Regions from separate parts of the Homo sapiens genome. Here all the other regions are linked to region 1. The links are contacts of gene promoters, found by promoter capture Hi-C in human tissues and cell types (Jung and others, 2019). All regions are on one chromosome and are shown on one strand. The core of a region is centred on a gene start or on the middle of the fragment in contact, and the rest is flanking DNA. Distances in the headings are between cores, read along the strand shown.

Region 1 (3,147 bases), core at 172-2,671:
GGCCCGTACTCAGAAAGCTCTTGAACACCCGCGGGGGAGGCATCTCCTGCCTCAGATCCAGGGTCGGGAGAAGGTCGAGCGGCTCCTCAGAGACTACTGGAGACCCAGTCGGTTCTGCGGGAACCCAAGGGCTCCACTGGGGCCTTGCGGACCACAGACCTATTTTCCCCTCGAGACCGGGCCGCAGATTGCTCAGTCCACAAGCCAGACAGCTGGGAAGTCTCTCACAGGCTTTGGTCCCACCGCAGCCCTATCCCGGCTCCAGCTCCGCCCTCTGAAGCCCCGCCCCTCAGGGAGGCTCCGTCAAGAGTTGGTCTCCTGGCCGGGCGCGGTGGCTCACGCCTGTAATCCCAGCGATTTGGGAGGCCGAGGCGGGCGGATCACCTGAGGTCGGGAGTTCGAGGCCAGCCTGATTAACACGGAGAAACCCCGTCTCTACTAAAAACACAAAAATTGGCCGGGCATGGTGGCGCACGCCTGTAATCCCAGCTACTCGGGAGGCTGAGGCGGGAGAATCGTTTGAACCCGGGAGGCGGAGGTTGCGGTGAGCCGAGATCATGCCATTGCATGGCATGGGCAACAGGAGCGAAACTCCGTTGCAAAAAAAAAAAAAAAAGAGTTGGTCCCTCCCCCAAACGGATGACCCGCCCCCAGCCTTAGATCTTGGTGGAACCCAATTGTCCTGGGAGCCACTCACGCTAACATTGAGGCCGCGCCCCCTCAGTGGCACCCAACCACAAGATTTTCCCCGCCCCTTCCCATAACCGTCCAGGACACCGAGGCTCCGCCCCTTAAGGGATCTCATTTAGCACCATCCCTTTACCCTACAGGACCCACCTTGTAGGAGGTGCCCAGATATCATCTTAGCCCCGTCCCCGCCCAGCACCGCCCTTTAGGCCCCGCCCCCTCCACTGGCTCACCCGGGGTCGACCCCGCCCGCACCCGAGGCCCCGCCCCTCACGGTTGCCGCGCCACAGGCTGTCTGCCAGTTGTGGCTCCGAGGCGCTGGCTTCTGCTGAGAGCTTCCTGCCCATGTGGTTCCTCCGGGCACTCCCGCGCTCAAGGCGGGCTCACCGCAGCTCGGGCCCCGGGCTCTTCTGCCCTCGGGCTCCCCAGGCCCGGGCTCCGCTGACCGGAGCCCTTTGCTGTCCTCCGAGGTGATGCTCATTGAGCTGTTCTCGCTGAAAAAGTTGGGCGTGTGCTTGCGCGAGGACGAGGCCGAGCCCGGGCGGGAGCTTCGCCGCATCCTGACCCCCTGCTGCCTAGTCACTGACGCTAAAGCCGCCGCTGCGGTCGCCAAGGCCCTGGGGCCTCCTTCAGCCGCTGCGCGCCGCGGGGACCCCACGGACCCTGCGTGAAGTCGGCAGGCCCCGCGGCCGCACCTGCCCTCCCGCTGTGTCCCGGCCGGCTGCTGACGTCACAGAGGAGCCTCGGTCTCCGCGGGCTGCCCTGGCCGCGCGTCACGGAGCTGGCCGTGACGTCACCTGGAGCCGTAGCCATGGCAGCCTCTCCTTCTGACTTTGTTGTTGTTTAAGAGACAGGGTCTTTCTCATTGCCCAGGCTGGAGTGCAGTGGCCTGATCATAGCTCATTGTAACTTCGAACTCCTAGGCTCAAGCGATCCTCCCGCCTCGGCCTCCCAAAGCGCTGGGAGTACAGGCGTCAGCCACCGCGCCCGGCCTCTTTTACAGCAAGCGATGATGTCACAGCACTTCCCAGAAAACCCCATCTAAAATGGCACTCAGTCTATAACAGTTTTTTTCTTTCTTTCTTTCTTTCTTTCTTTCTTTCTTTCTTTCTTTCTTTCTTTCTTTCTTTCTTTCTTTTTTTTTTTTTTTTGAGATGGAGTCTCATTCTGTTGCCCAGGCTGGAGTGCAATGGCGCGATCTTGGTCCACTGCAACCTCCGCCTCCCGGGTTCAAGCGATTCTCCCGCCTCAGCCTCCTGAGTGGCTGGGATTACAGACATGCACCACCATGCCTGGCTAATTTTGTATTTTTAGTAGAGACGGGGTTTCTCCATGTTAGTCAGGCTGGTCTTGAACTCCCGATCTCAGGTGATCCACCCGCCCCGGCCTCCTAAAGTGCTGGGATTACAGGCATGAGCCACTGCGCCCAGCATTTTTATTTTTATTTTATTTTTATTTTTTGAGACAGAGTCCTGCTGTGTCGCCCAGGCTGGAGGGCAGTAGTGCAATCTCGGCTCAGTGCAACCTCCGCCTCCCGGGTTCAAGCGATTCTCCTGCCTCAGCCTCCCGAGTAGTTGGGATTACAGACACCCGCCATCATGCCTGGCTAATTTTTGTATTTTTGTAGAGACGGGGTTTTACCATGTTGGCCAGGCTGGTCGTGAACTCCTGACCTCAGGTTATCCGCCTGCCTGGGGCTCCCAAAGTGCTGGGATTACAGGAGTCAGCTACTGCGCCTGGCCTCTTTTAAAGCAAGTGATGACGTCACAGCACTTCCTAGAAAACCCCATCTAAAATTGCACTTAGCAAATACCAGTTTCTATCCCCCTTCCCTGTTTTGTTTTTCTCCTCAGCACGTGTCACTAACATGCTATATATTTCATTTCTCTCTTTCTTTGAGATGGAGTCTCGCTCTGTTGCCCAGGCTGGAGTGCAGTGGCATGATCTCAGCTCACTGCAACCTCCATCTCCCGGCCTCAAGCAATCCTCCCGCCTCAGCCTCCCGAGTAGCTGGGACTACAGGCTTGCGCCACCACACCCAGCTAATTTTTGTATTTTTTGTAGAGATGGGGTCTCGCTATGTTGCCCAGGCTGGTCTTCAACTCCTGAGCTTGAGTGATCCACCCACTTCTGCCTCCCAAAGTGCTGGGATTACAGATGTGAGCCACCATGCCTGGCCCATTTATTTATTTCCTTATTGCCTGCCATGCCCACTAGAACATAAACTTAATCAGGGCACAGATTTTCATTCACTACTGTATCCTCCAGCACCTAGATAAGCCTAGCATGTAGTAGGTGCTCAAATATTTGCAAATAATGAATGTTAAGAAGGAGCAGGGCATCACTCAGGGCACTTCTAAATACTTAGTCCCCTTTGCTCTGCAAGCCCTTCAGCCCCCTCCTCTCATCCTAGACATCAGGTCAGAGAGCTCATTCAGGATCTGTGGGTCCCTCCTCCAG
Region 2 (3,269 bases), core at 525-3,024, 290 kb after region 1:
TACAAAAAATTAGCCGGGCATGGTGGTAGGCGCCTGTAGTCCCAGCTACTCAGGAGGCTGAGGCAGGAGAATGGCGTGAACCCGGGAGGCGGAGCTTGCAGTGAGCCGAGATGGTCCCACTGCACTCCAGCCTGGGTGACAGAGCAAGACTCCGTCTCAAAAAAAAGAAAAGACAGTAGATTTAGAGACTGACCATCTGAGTTAAAAGTCCCAGCACTGTCACTTACAAGCAGGATGTGATTTGACTACAAGTGACTTAACGTTTTTGTTTTTGTTTTTGTTTTTGTTTTTTGAGACAGAGTCTTGCTCAGTTGCCAGGCTGGAGTGCAGTGGCACAATCTTGGCTCACTGCAACTTCTGCCTCTCGGGTTCAATGGTTCCCCCGCCTCAGCCTCCTGAGTAGCTGGGACTACAGGTATGCGCCACTATGCCCAGCTAATTTTTTGTATTTTAGTAGACATGGGGTTTCACTATGTTGGCCAGGCTGGTCTCGAACTCCCGACCTCAGGTTATCGGCCCACCTCAGCCTCCCAGAGTGCTGAGATTACAGGCGTGAGCCACCGCACCTGGCCACTTAACAGTTTTGAGCTTCTGTTTCCTTGTTTATAGAATCAGGACAACAATAGCATTTTGGCTGTGAGCTCCTCGAGGGCAGGGTTGTGGTTGTGAGGCACAAATAAGATAATAAAATGAAAATATTATTAAATGCATTGTGTAATCATTGTTACGACCATCACTGTCATCATTATTATCAGTACGGATTTTAGATAGTACCCAGGATTATTTCCTTTAGGACTCCGCACCATCAGTGCTGTTGTTGAAACTGCGACTCTTTCAAGCCAGGTGTTGGCTTCTCTAATGAGTATGCATGAGACTTGTCATGTGGAATACTACAAAAAGCTTCCAGAAACCAAAGTAGATTATAGCTATAATGTTCCCCTTATTCAAATGCCCTAAAAGAGACGAAAGTTAAATTGCCATGGTAGTTTGATCATCCCAGAACCGTAGTGTACCTCATCAGCTCCTTTTGAAGATGATTGTGGACTTAATATTATGTGTTCTCATGTTTTCTCAACTGGACAAATGACTAGAATTTCTGAGGACATACATCTCTTCTCTCTTGGCTATTTTCCAAGCCTGAGGGAAGGACTCCTGTACTTCGTGACTATATAGAAATTAGGGCTGCTGGTTCTGCAATTCTGTCTGCCAACCATGTCCCTTGTTTTTCAGCACATTATCAGGCTATGCAGTCTTGAACATGTAGATCCCAAGCAGCAAAACTAGAATTTTCAAAATAAATAAGAAAGGGGTTTGTATTATTATTACTATGTTGTAGAGACAGGACCTCACTTTTTTGTCCAGGCTAGTCTTGAACTCCTGGCCTCAAGTGATCCACCTGCCTTGGCCTCACAAAGCATGGGGATTATACACGTAAGCCACCTTGCCCAGCCAATAAGGGAATATTTTTAAACAGCATGTCATCATAGCAAGCTTCCCTTGTACATTAAAAGTTTGAAATGTTTAAAATGGATTTTAAAATGGACCTCCTCATGCTGGGTTTAGGTTGGCCTTTCATCGCAACGGGAACATACTCTATTTAAATGTTCACATTATTTTCTAAAAAGAGAAAAAGAAATTGTCTTTCATTTAAAATATTTTTCTTTTTATTCTTGGTATTAACAACTTTTTCTGGAACTGCTCAATATGCATGCGTGCCTGAGCGTGCGCGCGCGCGCGCGCACACACACACACACACACACACACACACACAGTTTTGTTTGTATTTTGTCATCATTGCTAAAAGACCCTCAATAGATCTTTCAGTCGTAATGCATGTGAGTTAACAGGTAGACTTTTTTATTTGGTCTCTCCATGTCCCCCGTCTCTCTTGTCTGTCTACTCTTACTCTGTTTCTAAGTATCTCACAAAATATTCCACAGTGGGCTAATTTCTAACCTGAACTTTAAATAGGCTAGCTGATGTTCAGTGCACATCAGCCTGTTGCCGCACAATGACTGTAGAACATGGCGTTGGCACTGCAAAGCATTGGTGGTGGCATTACTGTCTACTACAGCAAACTAAAACATGACCTACAATCTTGTGTTGCATTGTTGCCTTATGATGAATTTGATATAGTCCTTAGGCTTCAGCCAGCAACTCTAGCTGTCCTTTGTCATTCATTCATTCCAGCAAATTCTTAGTCTGCTACTGTTAGCAACTTTGCTTCAAGCCAGTAACCTTAAAGCTTATTCTCACCTTCATGCTCATCAGTGTTTTCCATACCAACTTTCTTCTGTTTTCCCATTCCCCCACCATAATTACACCCACTCTCAACCTCAGGTTTTCCCAGGAGTGGAGCTTGGCTCTACTAGGGATATCTGATGTATTAGTAACCGGCCACTGATGACCCATCTGGTGGCTGTCTCTAGCTGCCACTGGAACTGGAATCTCTGAGTTGTGTTTACTCAAGACCACATTAGCATTTCTTAGTTCTGCCTCTGCAGATAGCCTGAGCTGTGGGGCACAGGAAGGGGCAGCTACATTCCTTCCAGTGTCTATTCCAACACAGGTAGGCAATGGAGTTGGATTGCTCTGTATTCTTATCTTGACCCCACTATTTCCTAGCTGTCTAGCTTTAACTTTCCCAAACATCAGATTCCTCTTCTCTAAAGTGGAGACAGTAACAGTTCCTGTCTCTTAGAGTCCTTGGGAAGGTTTAAGTGGGCTAATGTGTAAAGTTGTAGCACAGTTATTGGCACTTGGTAAATAATGAATGATGGGACCCGTCTCCAGACTTGAATCACTTTGGGGCACCTGTAGATGGGGGAGAGGGCAGACTTAGTAGAGAAAATATGTGTGCTAAGTCTTAGAGGATAAGGAGTTAGCATCCCTTCCATCAGTGGATAAAGAAGAGAAGAATTCCTGGCAGCAGTATGACTAAGAAATAGATGACAGCATGATGTATCTGTGCACATACTTTACTGACTGCAGGGTGAAGTAAGATGGGGAGGCAAGAGGAGGGGAGGCAAAAAAGATGGCCAAGAGCAGATCACTAGAAGCCTTGTAGAGTCCATGGAGGAGTTAAAACTTGATCTCCCATCAGTCCCTGTATCCACATAGTCTGGTTCCTCTGTTAAGCAGTCACATAAATATCTTTAAGGCAGCAACAGTGAAAAGGGGAAAGAGAGCAGCGAATTGGCCTCAAATGAACTGGCATCTCTTTAAAGCTAATATTCCTCCTTGAGAATGCTACTTTAATTAAACATGTG
Region 3 (3,559 bases), core at 94-2,593, 470 kb before region 1:
CTGCGCTCCAGCCTAGGCAGCAAGAGTGAAACTCTGTCTAAAAAAAAAAAAAAACAAAAAGGGGCCAAGTGTGATGGCTCACACCTGTAATCCCAGCACTTTGGGAGGCCGAGGCAGGCAGATCACCTGAGGCCAGGAGTTTGAGACCAACCTGGCCAGCATGGTGAAACCCTGTCTCTACTAACAACACAAAAAAATTAGCCAGGCTTGGTGGCTCATGCCTGTAAGTCCCAGCTACTCGGGAGGCTGAGACATGAGAATTGCTGAACCTGGGAGGCGGAGGTTGCAGTGAGCTGAGATTGTACCACTGCACTCTAGCCTGGGCAACACAGTGAGACTCGGTCTCAAAAAAAAAAAAAAAAAAAAGAGAATTCCATCACATCACCTCCAGTGGGGGGATATCCAGGAAGACAATTTCAGCTCACTATAAAGAACTCCCTAACAGTTGGAGCTACCCAAGAATGGAATGGACCACCTTGGGAGTGATGAACTCCTTGTCAATATATGTATTCAAGGAAAGATTAAGTCTTCATTGGGAAATTGAACTAGGATCCTGGTGACCTCTCAAGTTGAAAAAATGGGCAAGTTCTATTAGGAAGGGAAAGACAAGATCAAAGCTGTGCTTCCAGACAATTATGTGACTGTATGTGTAGAAGAAATGGGTGGGGAGGGATCAGAGGCAGGCAGGACCAGTAGGAAACCACTGCAGTGGTCCAGGAGATAAAAGAATAGACTGGGGCTGGGCACGGTGATTCATGCCTGTAATCCCAGCACTTTGGGAGGCCGAGGAGGGTGGATCACAAGGTCAGGAGTTCAAGACCAGCCTGGCAAACATGGTGAAACCCTGTCTCTACTAAAAATACAAAAAAATTAGCCAGGCATGGTGGTGGGTGCCTGTAATCCCAGCCACTTGGGAGGCTGAGGCAGAGAATTGCTTGAACCCGGGAGGCGGAGGTTGCAGTGAGCCGAGATCACACCACTGCACTCCAGCCTGGGCGACAGAGCGAAACTCGTCTCAAAACAAAACAAAACAAAACAAAAAACAAAAAAAAAGAATAGACTGGGAGGCCATGGGAATGGAAAGCCAATGCAAGTGTGACTTGAAAGAGGCACTGGCACTAGGCTGGTAGTCAGGAGCTGCAGGTTCTAGTCCTGCCCCTGCCATTAACTTATTGTGTAGTCTCAGGTAAATCCCAGCCCTTGAGTAGATCCCTTCCTTTATTCAAATTTCAGAGATCCCATCTGTAAAATGCAGAATGATCTGCAATATCCTTCCTAACTCTGGATTCTGTGAATGGGAGAGAGATAATGAAGGATAACTGGGATGATGTATTAGAAAGCCTTCATACACTTCAAAGTAATAATATCATTAGTACAAGTACCATTGTTATTATTATTTCAAAGGCAGCCTCACCAGAACGTGGTGACTGGACTGGTAGGAGGGGACAGGACAGAGTCAAGTGGCCTGCATCTGTGGGTGGACAAGACACCAGGATCTCTGATCTTTTGGGAAGGTCAGCTAACCACTGTATCCCTCCCCCAAGATCTGTGAAGACAAACAGTATTCTGTGCCCTGTCACCTCATTAACTGCTTCCTCATTCCTTTGAGCCACACCTTATACTTGGCTAAAAGAAGCAACCAATTCTAAGAAAAGTTAGCCTCTGTACTCCCTCCTTTCAATGTTCAAAAATGGGTCCTCGTCTGGGACTTTCCCTATATAATAATAAGTTTCATCATCTCATATAGGAATAGCCAACATTATTGAGTACTTAGTATATGTTAGGAAATTTATTTACATAATTTTCTCACCCTGGGAGGTAGCTGTAATGGCTTATGAAGATCTATAACTTTCTCAGTCACATAGCTTATGAGAAGGATTCCAGTACAAGTCTGTGCGATTTCAAGGCTGCATTCTTAAAGATTTTTTTTTTTTTTTTTTTTTGAAATGGAGTCTTGCTCCATCACCCTGGCTGGAGTGCAGTAGCACTATCTTTGCCCACTGCAACCTCCATCTCCCGGGTTCAAGCGATTCTCATGTCTCAGCCTCCCAAGTAGCTGGGATTACAGGTGCCTGCCACCATGCCTGGCTAATTTTTGTATTTTTAGTAGAGATGGGGTTTCACCATGTTGGCCAGGCTGGTCTCGAACTCTTAACCTCAGGTGATCTGCCTGCCTCAGCCTCCCAAAGTGCTGAGATTACAGCCGTGAGCCACCCTGCCCGGCACCCTAAAGATTTTTACTATGTCTTTTTGTAGCAACTTAGGGAGGAGGGCAAGATCAGTGTTGTTGCCACTTTATAGCTGGGGAAACTGAAGCTCAGAGAAGGTAAATTCTGTCATTTGGACAAATTAGTAAAGTCTTCTATGGTGCAGTTTGGTGCTGTTTCTACTTCTCAGAGCTTCCTCCTCTGCACCTTCCAGGACCTCCCCAGTCCTCCTAGGAGTGATGAGTAGAGACTTGCCCAGACTACTTAAGGGAAGGACTTACACTTGTCCTTCTCCTGGGGAAGGGAAAGGTTCCTGAAAGGTGAAAGTTAATTTCCACCTCCCCTCCCCACCCACCAACTCACACACCCTAAACCAGGACCTTGTGGTGACCCGCGCTGAAGGCTTACAGAGTGAGTCATGCGGGGCTGACCTGTCAGAGTCACCCAAGCACAAGATACTAAGCTTAGTTTAGAGGGGTGGAAAAGTAGGCAAAGTGCTCTCATCCTCAGGAGCACAGTCCACTTGCAGCTTGTGCCCCTCACTCCTTTCATCCCAAAATACTGCAAACATTTGGGAACACTGTACAAGGGCCTTAGAGCAGAGGGAACACATGACAAATAAGAGTGAGTCCAAGGAGTTGAGATTGGAGTGGAGCCTTAAAGAGTGAATTCAGCACACAAATTAGGTAGAAGGGCCCTCCAGGCTGCAGGAATGCCCTAAAGCTTAAATATATTTGGATTCCATCTAACAGGCAGTAGGGAGCCATGGAGTTCACTATGGCTTTGGAGACTGTCTGAGTTTGAATCTGCCTCTGTCCCTTCCCAGTGGTTTGATCTTGGGAAAGTTACTCAACCCCTGTGGTTGACGTATTATTTTTCTCCATTATTTGCCCTTCCCTTGGCCAGTAAGAGAATTATCCATCCTAGCCAGTTGCCATGTGACTTGTGTACCTTCCAGAGGAAGGAGTGCACTTCCCCAGCCCATTGTCAAGCTTAACCACATGACTTCCTTTGGCCAATGAAATGTGAGCTAGAGAGATACATGCCAGTTCGAAGCAGAAACTTGGAGTGCCATTGCATGTTTGAGTCTGAAATCTTACTTTTTTATCTCTGCCACTGGAAATGTTGTGTCTTGGATAGGGCCTGCACCTTCAGCCTGGACCCTGGAATGAAAAGACACAGAGCAAAGCTGCAGTGAATCTACAGCTGTGATGTGTAATGTGATGAAGAAAGCAATTGGCTTTTTGTAAGTCACTGAGAGTTTGGGGTTGTTTGTTATCACGTCATACTTAGCAAATGCTGACTGGCACACCTCTCAACAGTAGGTGATTTTAGTAGCATCTACCTCACGG

Evidence for each region. Contacts are between HindIII fragments. The study calls those that stand out against the background at their distance.
Region 2: a fragment that was not itself captured here is called in contact with the fragment with the promoter of SPAG4 in region 1 in 1 of the 25 tissues and cell types used here (bladder).
Region 3: a contact is called between a fragment that was not itself captured here and the fragment with the promoter of SPAG4 in region 1, in 2 of the 25 tissues and cell types used here (aorta and dorsolateral prefrontal cortex).

What each region holds. Positions count from the first base shown.
Region 1 is chr20:35,614,103-35,617,249 of GRCh38, reverse strand. SPAG4 (sperm associated antigen 4) reads right to left here and starts at 1,421. Exons shown (of 12, transcript NM_003116.3): 1 at 943-1,421; 2 at 10-114. The coding sequence starts at 1,246. RefSeq lists an enhancer at 1-215 and a silencer at 646-1,375. The HindIII fragment of the contact is 21,465 bases long and covers 1-3,147 here.
Region 2 is chr20:35,319,755-35,323,023 of GRCh38, reverse strand. All of the region lies in intron 7 of UQCC1 (ubiquinol-cytochrome c reductase complex assembly factor 1), which reads left to right. Among named protein-coding and RNA genes, the nearest start is that of FAM83C, 29 kb to the right of the region's middle. The HindIII fragment of the contact is 3,522 bases long and covers 14-3,269 here.
Region 3 is chr20:36,084,990-36,088,548 of GRCh38, reverse strand. No RefSeq gene overlaps it. Among named protein-coding and RNA genes, the nearest start is that of NORAD, 36 kb to the right of the region's middle. The HindIII fragment of the contact is 7,451 bases long and covers 1-3,559 here.